Regions from separate parts of the Homo sapiens genome. Here regions 2 and 3 are each linked to region 1. Evidence: promoter capture Hi-C in 16 types of primary human blood cells and fetal thymus (Javierre and others, 2016). All regions are on one chromosome and are shown on one strand. The core of a region is centred on a gene start or on the middle of the fragment in contact, and the rest is flanking DNA. Distances in the headings are between cores, read along the strand shown.

Region 1 (3,951 bases), core at 24-2,523:
GCAATACCAAGGTAAATGCCGGCGCCGCGGCTCAGAGGGAAGAGTAACTTACGATCTGCGCCTAGATTTTTCCTAGTAACCCTCCTAACCCATCCCCCTAACTGACAAAAACGACTCTTCCATCCGGGAGACTTTGGGATTTCCGGGCTACAGGACTCCACCCCCCACAACCTAGTCAGTCCCACCACCAACGTTCGGCCTGGGGCACTTCCCAAATGCCTAAGGACGCAGGGGGTTGCGCTAGTAAGTTGAAGGCCCAGGGCACCCCCTTTCTAGGGTTGACGACCCGTAAAGACTCCTCATTGGCCCCGCCCTCTACGCCCAGTATCCTATTTTTATTTTTTTTTTTAATTATTGGTTTCTTAAATAGAGCCAGGGTATCGCCATGTTGCCAGGCTCGTCTTGAACTCCTGGCCTCAAGCAATCCTCCCCACTCGACCTCTCAAAGTATCGAGATTACAGGCGTGAGCCACTGTGCCCGGCCGTCCCCATGCCCAGTCTCCTATTAAATCCCGCTGGAGGTGCCTGGCTCCCTGGGGCTGGGTGGAAAGGGTAGTGTAGGGGAAGTTGCCCTCCGTCCCAGCCCAGTTTAGGAGCCGGCGACCTCCTCTCTCCTTCGGCTGCTCCTCGGACGTTCTTGGCTCAGGGCAGCGAAAACTGTCGAAGACCTGCGGGCCAGGGACTGCTGAGCACCTCCATCCAAGGTCCCCAATGCTTTTCTCCATCTACCCTTTAGAGTGGGTGTCACGATTGCCACTGGAAAGGCTAAGTGACTTGCCCTAGGTCACATAATTTAAATGGCAGAACTGGAGTTTCTCACAGAACCTGTCCCGACTTAAAGCCCTTTGCTTAGGCCCCATTTAACTTCCTCAAACCTTAACTTAGGAGAGTGCAGGCGCTGGGGACCGCAGAGTCATTTTTGTTGCCCAGCGGTGCCGTCGCGTGCAGCTTTGGGCCCAGGTGCAGAACCCAACCGCGCATCCCCAGCGCGCACTTCGTCCACCCGGCTGCCAGAGCGGACACATCGGTCCGGCCTCGGTTTCCCCCTTCTGAACAAAAGCGCGCACAGTGTGCTCCCCGCACCAAGCCGGGACTGTGGCCCCCTTTCCCCGCTTCCCGGACCCTCCTCTGGGGACAGACGGACCGCGCGCGTCCTTGCCGCGGCGGCGGGTCGGGTGGGTGGGGTTTGCTGCACTGCTGCTGCGGCGGCGGCGGCGCCAGTGGGTCCTCCGGTGACTCTGGGGCGGGGCTGTGGGGAGGGCACGGACTGACAGACGGACTCCGGCGGAATGGGGGGTGTGGCTGCTCCGCCAGGGTCCCCAGGGTGGGAGAGCGGCTCCGCGGCCACCGATGCCCGGACCCCCTCTGTCTTCTGCTAGACATGCTCTTCCTCTCGGTGAGTTGTTTTGCTGTCGTCGCGGGCCGGATTCGTGGCCTTAGTCACGCCCCGGGGGAGGAGGAAGGAGCCGGGCCGCTTCGATCTGTGTGGCCTGGATAGGGCAGGGCAAAGGGGAACTGACCCGCTTCGCTCCCGGGCCTCCTCCTTTTGGGGCATGTTGATCCGCGGCTGCGCTCCATGTTCCAGTTTCATGCAGGCTCTTGGGAAAGCTGGTGCTGCTGCTGCCTGATTCCCGCCGACAGACCTTGGGACCGGGGCCAACACTGGCAGCTGGAGATGGCGGACACGAGATCCGTGCACGAGACTAGGTTTGAGGCGGCCGTGAAGGTGATCCAGAGTTTGCCGAAGAATGGTACGTGCGCTGGGCCCCGGCTGTAGACGCCTCCTGCAGAGAGCCCCAAAGCCCCCTTTCACTTTCTGGTTCTAGTGTTGTTTATTTAGCCTTTTTTTCTGTGTAGGAGCCATGTAGTGGAAGGGGAGCTATTGAATATGAATTAATTACCTTTTGATCTTCCAAACCGGAGAAAAATCTAATATCCAGATTTTAAGTACTTCATATTGTTGAAAACAAAAGTCTTGTCACTTAATGACTGCGGATTTGGGTGTGTTAAAAAATAAATCCGGGCCGGGCGCGGTGGCTCAAGCCTGTAATCCCAACACTTTGGGAGGCCGAGGTGGATGGATCACCTGAGGTCAGGAGTTCAAGACCAGCCTGACCAATATGGTGAAACCCCGTCTCTACTAAAAAATACGAAAATTAGCCAGGCTTCGTGGCGTGCGCCTGTAGTCCCAGCTACTCGGGAGGCTGAGACAGGGAAATTGCTTGAACCCGGGAGGCAGAGGTTGCAGTGACCCGATATCGTGCCACTGCACTCCAGCCTGGGCGACAGAGCCAGACTCCATCTCAAACAAACAAACAAACAAACAAACAAAAATCTAGGCTGGGGATGCCTAATGCCACACACTCATAGGGTCTACCAGCTTAAGCGTTTTGAAAACTTTTGATATGAAGGGACAGAAAAGAAAGAATAACTATAGTCAATTGTGAAGTAATTTCTATTTTAATAAATATATATTTTCTACCTTTTTATTTGCTATTCCATTGTATAATGTTCTTTTTTATACTCATATTGGACCTTCTTTGCAGCTGGTGAGAAAAAAGTCATTCCAGTGGCTGATCTCCTTCTTGTATTTAATGTGCTATTTCTCTGGCTGCTTTTTAGATTTCTTTTCTATCTTCGGTTTTCAGCAATTTGACTAGTAGATGTGGTTTTTCTTCATATTAACCCTGTTCACGATTTGCAGAGCTTTTTGAATTTGTAATTTTATGTCATAGACCAATGTGAAGTTTTTGGCCATTAAATATTTTTCTCTGTTCTAAATGCAGAGTCTTAGAAGCAAGACGTACTTTTCAATTCATATCTTTCTACATTATATGAATTATATTTCACAATAAACATATTTATTTCTTTAGAGATGGAGTTCCGCTCTTGTTGCCCAGGCTGAAGTGCAATGGTACAATCTCAGCTCACCTCAACCCCCACCTCCCAGGTTCAAGCGATTCTTCTGCCTCAGCTTACCCAGCAGCTGGGATTACACCCGTGCGTCACCATGCCCGGCTAATTTTGTATTTTTAGTAGAGACGGGGTTTCTCCATGTTGGTCAGGCTGGTATTGAACTCCCGACCTCAGGTGATCTGCCCTCCTGGGCCACCCAAAGTGCTGGGATTACAGGCATGAGCCACCGCGCCCGGCCCAATAAACATATTTAGAAAGTAATTATAGGTGCTACTACTGTGCCACAGTTGTAAAACTAACTGAATACAACAATAATATGTTACTATAGTATTTAATATCATGATTTCTGTTTTCATTAATTATCATTAATTATCAATAATTTCAATAATTATAGGTAACAAATATTCAACACATCATTCAATAAAAATTCATTAAATGCAGATTCAGAAATTTTTAAAAACAAATATACACAAAATAGTGTTCCATTTGTAATTTCTTTCCTTCTATGGTGTTGTCTGAACCTTTTGTAATTTCAAACATTCTATTGGAGGAGGGCATATGGGGGACTGAAAGATAAGAAAGAACAAATAAAATATAAAAAAAAGCATGAACTTATTTAGGTATTGATTTTTTAAGTCCCTAATTATTAGTGTTTATAGAAAGGTATGATTCTAAGAGTTTTATGTAAGTAGTATGTTTATACTTTCTTCTAAAGCACACGTTTTTATAGTTTTTTGAAAATTGGTAAAGCTAGACTGATGTCTCTAGGCCACTATGCCTGTTGACATTATGTACCACTTATTAGGAAACCTGTATAAAGTACAGTTTGTATGTACATAACATTTAAGAAAGTATTGCAAAGTTAACATACCCTATCGGCCGGGTGCGGTGGCTCACGCCTGTAATCCCAGCACTGTGGGAGGCCGAGGCAGGCTGATGCTGAGGCGGGCTGATCACGGGGCTGGCGGATCACAAGGTCAGGAGATTGAGACCATCCTGGCTAATACGGTGAAACCCCGTCTCTACTAAAAATAC
Region 2 (3,951 bases), core at 553-3,052, 1.3 Mb before region 1:
AAATTAACCTAACAATGATATGCTGGACACCTTAACTTATCCCTTATCATTAACGATAACAATAATCAGTGTTATTTCTGTAAACCAGTGGGAACTGCCATCAAACATCCTTGTATCAGCCCACTCCTTGTTTCCTTGTCTTTACAAACTTGCTTGTCACAAATGCTAAACAGAACACCTCCCAGTGTTTTTGGGGCTGCAGTGCTCAACCTTGGTCCAAAGGAAATCTCTATATTAATTTTGCCTCCGTTTCCTTCTTAGGTCAACTCGTTACTCCTTCCCTGAACTCATCTTGCATTACTTTCCCACCAGAAACACACTGGTAGCTAACTTGTTTAAACAAACACTCTCACCATAAGGCCTGGACATTTACTGTTCTCTGCCTAGAACACACTTCCCTCACTCCCAAAGCCACAGGCTTAGCTTCCTCATTGTTACATAAAAAAGCAACTCCTACTTCCCAAGCATATCTTACTACTTCCTCCTTTACCTAGCTTTATTTTTCTACAAGACAGCACTATCACCAACTCATATACTATCGCACCCAAGAGAACATCAGACTTACACACACACACACACACACACACACACATCAGGTTTCTCGAGAGCAGAGATTTAACTAATCTGTTGTCTACCATACCCACAGTACTTGACACACTAGGCTGCCTGATATATTTACGTACTACGTTAAGTGTCTCATGGAAAATATTACACCCACCTCCAAAGCTTTATTTTACACATTCTATTTGTTATATTAACAAATTGAGCTGGGTTGATTTGCACCAAATGAACTACCCGTATTCGTCATTCTAGGATTTTCTGATATTTTCCAACATTCCAATAACATCAAAAGCAATACTTGACCTCTAAGGGCCAGCCAACTGTATCAAGTAAAAAGCCCACAGTGCACAAAAATTATATTCTACTCTTTGCAACTTATCTTTACCACAGGACAGCACCACCTTTGGATTCCTTGAATTTCTTGAGTGCACCAGACTTTATTGATTCACTGTAAAGCAAACTCACTATTATTTTACTTGCTTTCATTAATACCCATGATTTTAGTCTCTGATACAATGAAGGCAATGAGGAACAACATAAAAAATAGAAAATTTTGGAACATAACACAGGTGGTTCACTTACATAATTTTTTTTTACAATTTATATTTATACAAATAGATTGCTACACATAACTCAAAAGAATTAAAATTAAACAAACCCGGCTTCCTAATGAAAATGAAACACACTCAGCCAATCACAGGTGGCCAAATAGGTATTAGTTACAATGTCTTGAACTTCCCACTTAGTCCAAATAAGGCAACTGCTCAAACATTAAGAAATCAAATAATTTCTTTGCGCTGCTTCTGCATTTACCCTATATTAGCTTTCCCCTCAAACACCGCAGGCTGAGCTCCCTAACTGCTTAAGGTCTGATTGTAAATCACTCTCCTCAATAAAATCTTTAAATTTTAAACACTAGAGAACAAAGTGGCAACAGAAAAAAAAAGGAGAAAAATAATTTCACAAAGTTTTCTCTCTAAAGATTGAGTTTTCTTGTAGATATTTTATAAGGAAAGAGATAGGCCAAAAGATGACCCACAAGGAGTTTCTCAAAGTGTTTCAAGTGACTCTAAGAGTATTTTCTTTTTTTTTCCGAGACAGAATCTCGCTCTGTTGCCCAGGCTGGAATGCAATGGCACAATCTAGGCTCACTGCAACTTCCGCCTCCTGGGTTCAAGCAATTCTCTTGCCTCAGCCTCCCAAGTAGCTGGGACTACAGGCGCCTGCCACCACACCCGGCTAATTTTTTGTATTTTTAGTAGAGACGAGGTTTCACAATGTTAGCCAGGACAGTCTCAATCTCCTGACCTCATGATCCACCCACCTCGGCCTCTGAAAGCGCTGGGATTACAGGCGTGAGCCACTGAGCCTGACCCCTAAGAGTATTTTCTTAACATCTATCAAAATCTATCCAAAGACATTTTTTCCACATTCCAGGACCATTTTAATAAAGCTATTCCTTTTTCTCTTTAAAGACACAATGTCTCATTCTGTCTCCCAGGCTGGAGTGCAGTGGAACAATGATGGCTCACTGCAGCCTCAACCTCCTAGGCTCAAGCAATCCTCCTGCCTCAGCCTCTCAAACAGCTGAGACCATAGGGGCACACCACCACACCCAGCTGATTTTTAAAAATTTTTGTAGAGACAAGGTCTCACTATGTTCAGGTGGGTCTTGAACACCTGACTTCAGGTGATCCTCCCACCTTGGCCTCCCCATGTGCTAGGATTATAGGTGTGATCCACCACACCCAGCCTACAACTATTCCTTTATTTTCCAATTTTGACTGTTTATACAAAAGAAAATCTCATATCCTTTATATAGCTAATGACACTGTATAATATTGACAGTTTTATAATATTATCACATTGCTTCAATAAGGTGATTTTTATTGGCACTGAAAATGCATTAAATTATGCCTAACAGTTTATTAGTCAATATTACAAGGCACTCAAATTTATCTTTAAAAATCTGGCACAGGAACCTGAGTCAGGATATAAACACCTATATTACCAGTTGTTATTAGAAAAAGGCTGTTCAACTTAAATAACCGTGACTTATACCTATCAAAATTCCAATGAAATTTTCAACACAAAAAAAAAAACTCCCAAAATTTGTAGGGAACATAAAAAGACCACAAATAGCTAAGCATTTTGAGAAAGAACAAAGCTGGAGGTATCACAATTCTTGATTTAAAAGCATCTTACAAAGCTATGGTAATAATAAAAAAAGTATGGTTCTGGTATAAAAACAGAAACACACACCAATGCAACAGAACACCCAAAAATAAACCCATGCTTCCACGGTCAAATAAGCTTTGACAACAATACACAATGAGAAACGGAAATGGAAAGCCTCTTCAAAAAATGTTGCTGGGAAAACTGGATAGCCGCACGCAGAAGAATGAAATTGGATCCTTGTTGTACACCATATACAATCAGTAACTCAAAATGAATAACAACTGAAAATATAAGGTCTGAGACTGTAGAACTCCCACAAGAAAACATAGGGGACAAAACAGCTCTTTGACTTTGGTCTTGGCAATAATTTTTTGAATACTACACCAAAGGCACAGGCAACAAAAGCAAAAATACGTGTGACTATATCACACTAAAAAGCTTCTTGCACGAAAAAAAGAAAAAAATCAACAAAACGAAAAAACAACCTACAAAATAGTAGAAAATATTTGCAAACCATATTTGTGATAAGGGGTTAAGTATCCAAAATCTATAAGGAACTCACCAGCTTAATGGCAAAAAAAAAAAAAAAAAAAAAAAAAAATTTAATGGGCAACGAAATTGAATCTACCATTTTTAAAACATACAAATGGTTGACAGGTATATTAAAAAGTGCTTAGTATCACTAATCAGAGAAATGCAAATCAAACTGCAATGATCTATTAGCTCACACCTCTTAGGATGGCTATTATGGAAAAAACAAGAGGTTAAGTGTTGGTGAGGGTGCAGAGGAGGGAACCTTTGTACACTATTGGTGGAAATAATGGAAACCAGAATAGAGGCTTCTTTAAAAATTAACAATAGAACTACCATATGATCCAGCAAACCTACAACTGGATATCTATCCAAAGGAAAGGAAATCAGTATCTCAAACAGATATGCTCGATATCTGATCAGGGTTCTCATCCTCCACTATCTCCCAGGTGATGTCTAATCACCCTGGCCAATATTCAGCAGGAATCCTGCTTGGCTGGTGTCCTAGTTTTCTGTTGCTATAACTGAATACCAGACTGTGTAATTTATAAAGAATAGAAGCTCATTTAGTTCGTGGTTCTGGAAGCTGGAAAGTTGTACAGCATGGTGCCAGTCATCACATGGCAAGAGGTCAAGTGCACACAAGCTCAGGTCTCTTTTCCTCTTCTTACAAAGCCACCA
Region 3 (3,951 bases), core at 532-3,031, 1.1 Mb before region 1:
TTTTATGGCTGCATAGTATTCCATGGTGTATATGCACCACATTTTCTTTATCCAGTCCACCACTGATGGGCACCGTTTGATTCCATATCTTTGCTACCATGAATGGTGCTCCCAACAGCATTTGTCTTTTATCAGTGAATTCTTTAAAAATCAGAAAGCCTTCAAGAGGTGAAGAATGAACATCTAAAACAATTCTTAAGGCCAGGAACAGTGTCAAACAAGGGGCCTTCTCAGGGAGTGTACTTTTTTATTATATCTTGTGGTCAGAAGAATAATGCCCCCGAAAGATGTCCACATCCTAATTCCCAGACGCTGCCTTGTCACCGAATGTGACAAAGGGACTTTTTAGATGTAGGATCTTCAAATGGCGAGCTTATCCTGGATTTTCCTGGATTATTCAGGCAGACTCGGTGTCATCTCAAGGGTTCTTATAAGAGGGAGGCAGAGGGTCTGAGTCAGAGGAGGCAACCTGATGATGAAAGCAGGGGTGAGTGTGTGTGTGTGTGTGTGTGTGTGTGTGTGTGTGTGTGTGTGACAGAGAGGGAGAGAGAACCCTTTGACGGTGCTGCATTGCTGACTTTGAAACTGGAGGAAGGGTCAAGGAGTCCAGGAATCCAGGCAGCTCCTAGAAGTCAGAAAAGGCAGGTACATGAATTGTCCCACTGAGCTTCCAGAAGCAATGCAACTCCTGACACCTTGAATTTGGGAGTTCTGACATCCAAAAGCATAAGATAATAAATTTGTGTTGTTTTAAGTCACTAAGTTTGCATTAATTTTTAACAGCAGCAAAGGGAATCCAATACACATCTTACAGTCCATCTGTGGCCAAACAGATTCAACTTTTCCACCATTCAACTATTTGCAACACCTACCAAATGGTTCAAAGCAGCATGGTGCTGCACACCTCTTGCAAAATGAACTATATGATGAGAATTAACTAAGAGTTCAAACTTGAAACCATTGGCTTGGGGAATGATTCGATCAATACTAGGGGAGATATAACAGTATGGAAAAGATGCTGTTGATTCTGGCCAATGCATATTGCTGTGCAGTTTGGGCCCAGCTGAGAGTGCCTGACTGTGGGGGCAAATGACAGGTGAAGTCCAGGCCAAGCACCATCTGCCAAGTAGTGCACCTGGTCATGCAGCGGCCTTTGCCTGGAGGAAGGAACACCATTTTCTAATTTGCCCAAAGGCACCAGATGGACTAGCAACAGTCCCAGAAGACTTAGCATGGTTCTGCCAAGGACTGAGGGTGTGAATTCAGGTTTGCTACCACTTATCATTTTGGATAGAAGCTACAATTAATTAGGTAATTCACTTCTTTGGCATTCAATTTCATTGCTTAAAAGGGAGACTTCAGGTGAAATGAACTCATTGTTACTAACTCCACTCCAGCCCTGCATGCCTTCTTGCTGTTCCTCAAGCACATACCTCCTACCCCAGGGCCTTTGCACTCACTGTTTCCACTACCCACCACCTGGCTTGCTTGCTTCCTTCCTTCATTCCTTCCTTCCTTCCCTCCTTCCCTCTTTCCTTTCTCTTTCTCTCTTTCTCCCTTCCTTCCATCCTCTCTTTCTCCCTCCCTCTCTCTTTCTCTTTCTTTCTTTGGGCCTTGGTTTGTTGCCCAGAAGGGAGTGCAGTGCTGTGGTCATAGTTCACTCCAGCCTCAAACTCCTTGGCTCAAGTGATCCTCCCACCTCAGCCTCCTGAGTAGCTGGGACTACAGGTGTGCACCACCATGTCTGGCTAATTTTTTTTTTTTTTTTTTTTTTGAGATGGAGTCTCACTCTGTCACCCAGGTTGGAGTGCAGTGGCACAATCTCGGCTCACTACAACTTCCGCCTCCCAGGTACAAGTAATGTTCCTGCCTCAGCCTCCCGAGTAGCTGGGACTACAGATGCGCACCACCACATCTGGCTAAATTTTGTATTTTTAGTAGAGACCTACTGACCTCGTGATCCACCTGCCTCAGCCTCCCAAAGTACTGGGATTACAGGTGTGAGCCACCGCGCCCAGCCCCTGTCTGGCTAATTTTTATTTTATTTTTTTAGAGATGGAGTCTTGCTATGTCGCCCAGGCTGGTCTCAAACTCCTGGCCTTACGTGATCCTCCCACTTTGGCCTCCCAAAGTGTTGGGATTACAGGCATGAGGGACTGGGCCCAGCCCTAATAAATATTTCTTGAAGGCATAGACTTTTCTTCTTATGTTAAAACTGACTTCCACAATAGGATGCTTCGGCGTTTCATGTTTTGTGTATGTGAGTGTAATTTTGCTCCCTGGTGGGGTGTAAATTTACTTTCTGAGGCATGGGGGTGAAGGTGACAGTGACTAGTATATTGCTTCAGGATGTGTTCTGGCCCCTTCTTATGGTGTCACCATCTTCTAGGATGTGGCCAGAGCACGGTGAGGTATGTAACAAAATGAAACCTTTTGCTTAAAATCAAATTGGCCAGCAGGGCGCGGTGGCTCACGCCTGTAATCCCAGCACTTTGGGAGGCCAAGGCAGGTGGATCACAAGGTCAGGAGATCGAGACCATCCTGGCCAACATGGTGAAACCGTCTCTACTAAAAATACAAAAAAATCAGCTGGGTGCGGTGGTGCACACCTGTAGTCCCAGTTACTCAGGAGGCTGAGGCAGGAGAATGGCTTGAACCCAGGAGGTGGAGGTTGCAGTGAGCTGAGATTGTGCCACTGCACTCCAGCCTGGTGACAGAGTGAGACTCCGTCTCAAAAAAAAAAAAAAAAAAAAATCGGTCAAAGTACAATATTTGCTTCCTACTCTGCTCATCTTCACCTGAAAAATCTACAGATTCTTCAGATTGCAAACCCATGCTTACCAAAGATAAATGCTTGCACTTTGCATGAATTTGAAAATGTATCTCTTATTTTTCATTCAAGACTCCAAGTTGGCCAGACAGGATGACTCATGCCTGTAATCCCAGCACTTTGGGAGGCCAAGGCAGGTGGATCACATGAGGTCAGGAGTTCAAGACCAGTCTGGCTAACATGGTGAAACCTCGTCTCTACCAAAAATACAAAAATTAGCTGGGTGTGGTGGTGCGTACCTGTAATCCCAGCTACTCAGGAGGCTGAGGCAGGAGAATTGCTTGAATCCAGGAGGCAGAGGTTGCAGTGAGCTGAGATTGTGCCACTGCACTCCAGCCTGGGCTAACGAGCGAGACTCCGTCTCAAAAAATAAAAATAAATAAAAATACAAAATAAAAATAAAGACTCCAACTCAATATTTGGGGAAAAAAAGCCACTTTTATCCCTGTCTTTGACCCCTTAATCATTTTTCCTTTGCTGGACCTAGTCCTGTCTCTCTGAACTCTCTGCTGCAATTTCCTGACACTGTGGCCCAGGTCTGGGGAGCTCTTTGGGTGGGGCTGAATGCCGAAGCTCACTCACCACTTCCCTTCTTTTCAAAAGAAGCGAAAGTCTTTCTAGTTCCTTCGGTTTGGGTACTTTCTTTAAGTATGTGCCTGAGTAGACAAGTCATCGTATTTCCTGATTCTGCTCACTGAAAGTAGTTTCTACTTGTGTGCAGGAATAGCTTCTAGCTCTGATGCTTAATTCTTTTGACTTAAATATCCCCATATGGTGGGAGGTCTAGAGAGGAATTTATACCACTGAGACTCTCACTATATATATTTTTTCTGTCAGTTACTCTTGTAAGCTGTGAGTCTTTAATGATTACCATATGCACAGGCCCATATGGTCTGAGCCTCCACTCAGCACGTGTTCCTTGATCATAATGTCACAGAGCAGTGTGGCTTTTCCTGTGAGCATTCTGTGCAACATAGCATGGTGACAGATACCTTATCCGGAGTCGCCATTTTATTTTTTCAACGTTTTCAGTGCGTCTTTGGAAACACTAGCCAGCCACTTGTAGACACGTCAAGTACAGATTCATATTTGAAATATCCTGGGTAAATATTTAAAGTATT

Evidence for each region. The method cuts DNA at HindIII sites, captures the fragments that hold promoters and counts their contacts. A CHiCAGO score of 5 or more calls a contact.
Region 2: a contact is called between a fragment that was not itself captured here and the fragment with the promoter of ACBD5 in region 1, in 1 of 17 cell types (total B cells). The highest score is 6.5, in total B cells.
Region 3: a contact is called between a fragment that was not itself captured here and the fragment with the promoter of ACBD5 in region 1, in 1 of 17 cell types (total B cells). The highest score is 5.2, in total B cells.

The regions. Positions count from the first base shown.
Region 1 is chr10:27,238,119-27,242,069 of GRCh38, reverse strand. It overlaps ACBD5 (acyl-CoA binding domain containing 5), which reads left to right and starts at 1,273. Exons shown (of 13, transcript NM_145698.5): 1 at 1,273-1,396; 2 at 1,586-1,751. The coding sequence starts at 1,382. RefSeq lists enhancers at 1-51, 1,502-1,761, 1,719-2,221 and a silencer at 1,272-1,381. The HindIII fragment of the contact is 10,066 bases long and covers 1-3,951 here.
Region 2 is chr10:28,555,778-28,559,728 of GRCh38, reverse strand. The region is part of intron 3 of WAC (WW domain containing adaptor with coiled-coil); the gene reads right to left. Among named protein-coding and RNA genes, the nearest start is that of WAC, 25 kb to the right of the region's middle. The HindIII fragment of the contact is 2,148 bases long and covers 729-2,876 here.
Region 3 is chr10:28,367,849-28,371,799 of GRCh38, reverse strand. No RefSeq gene overlaps it. Among named protein-coding and RNA genes, the nearest start is that of MPP7-DT, 67 kb to the right of the region's middle. The HindIII fragment of the contact is 5,601 bases long and covers 1-3,951 here.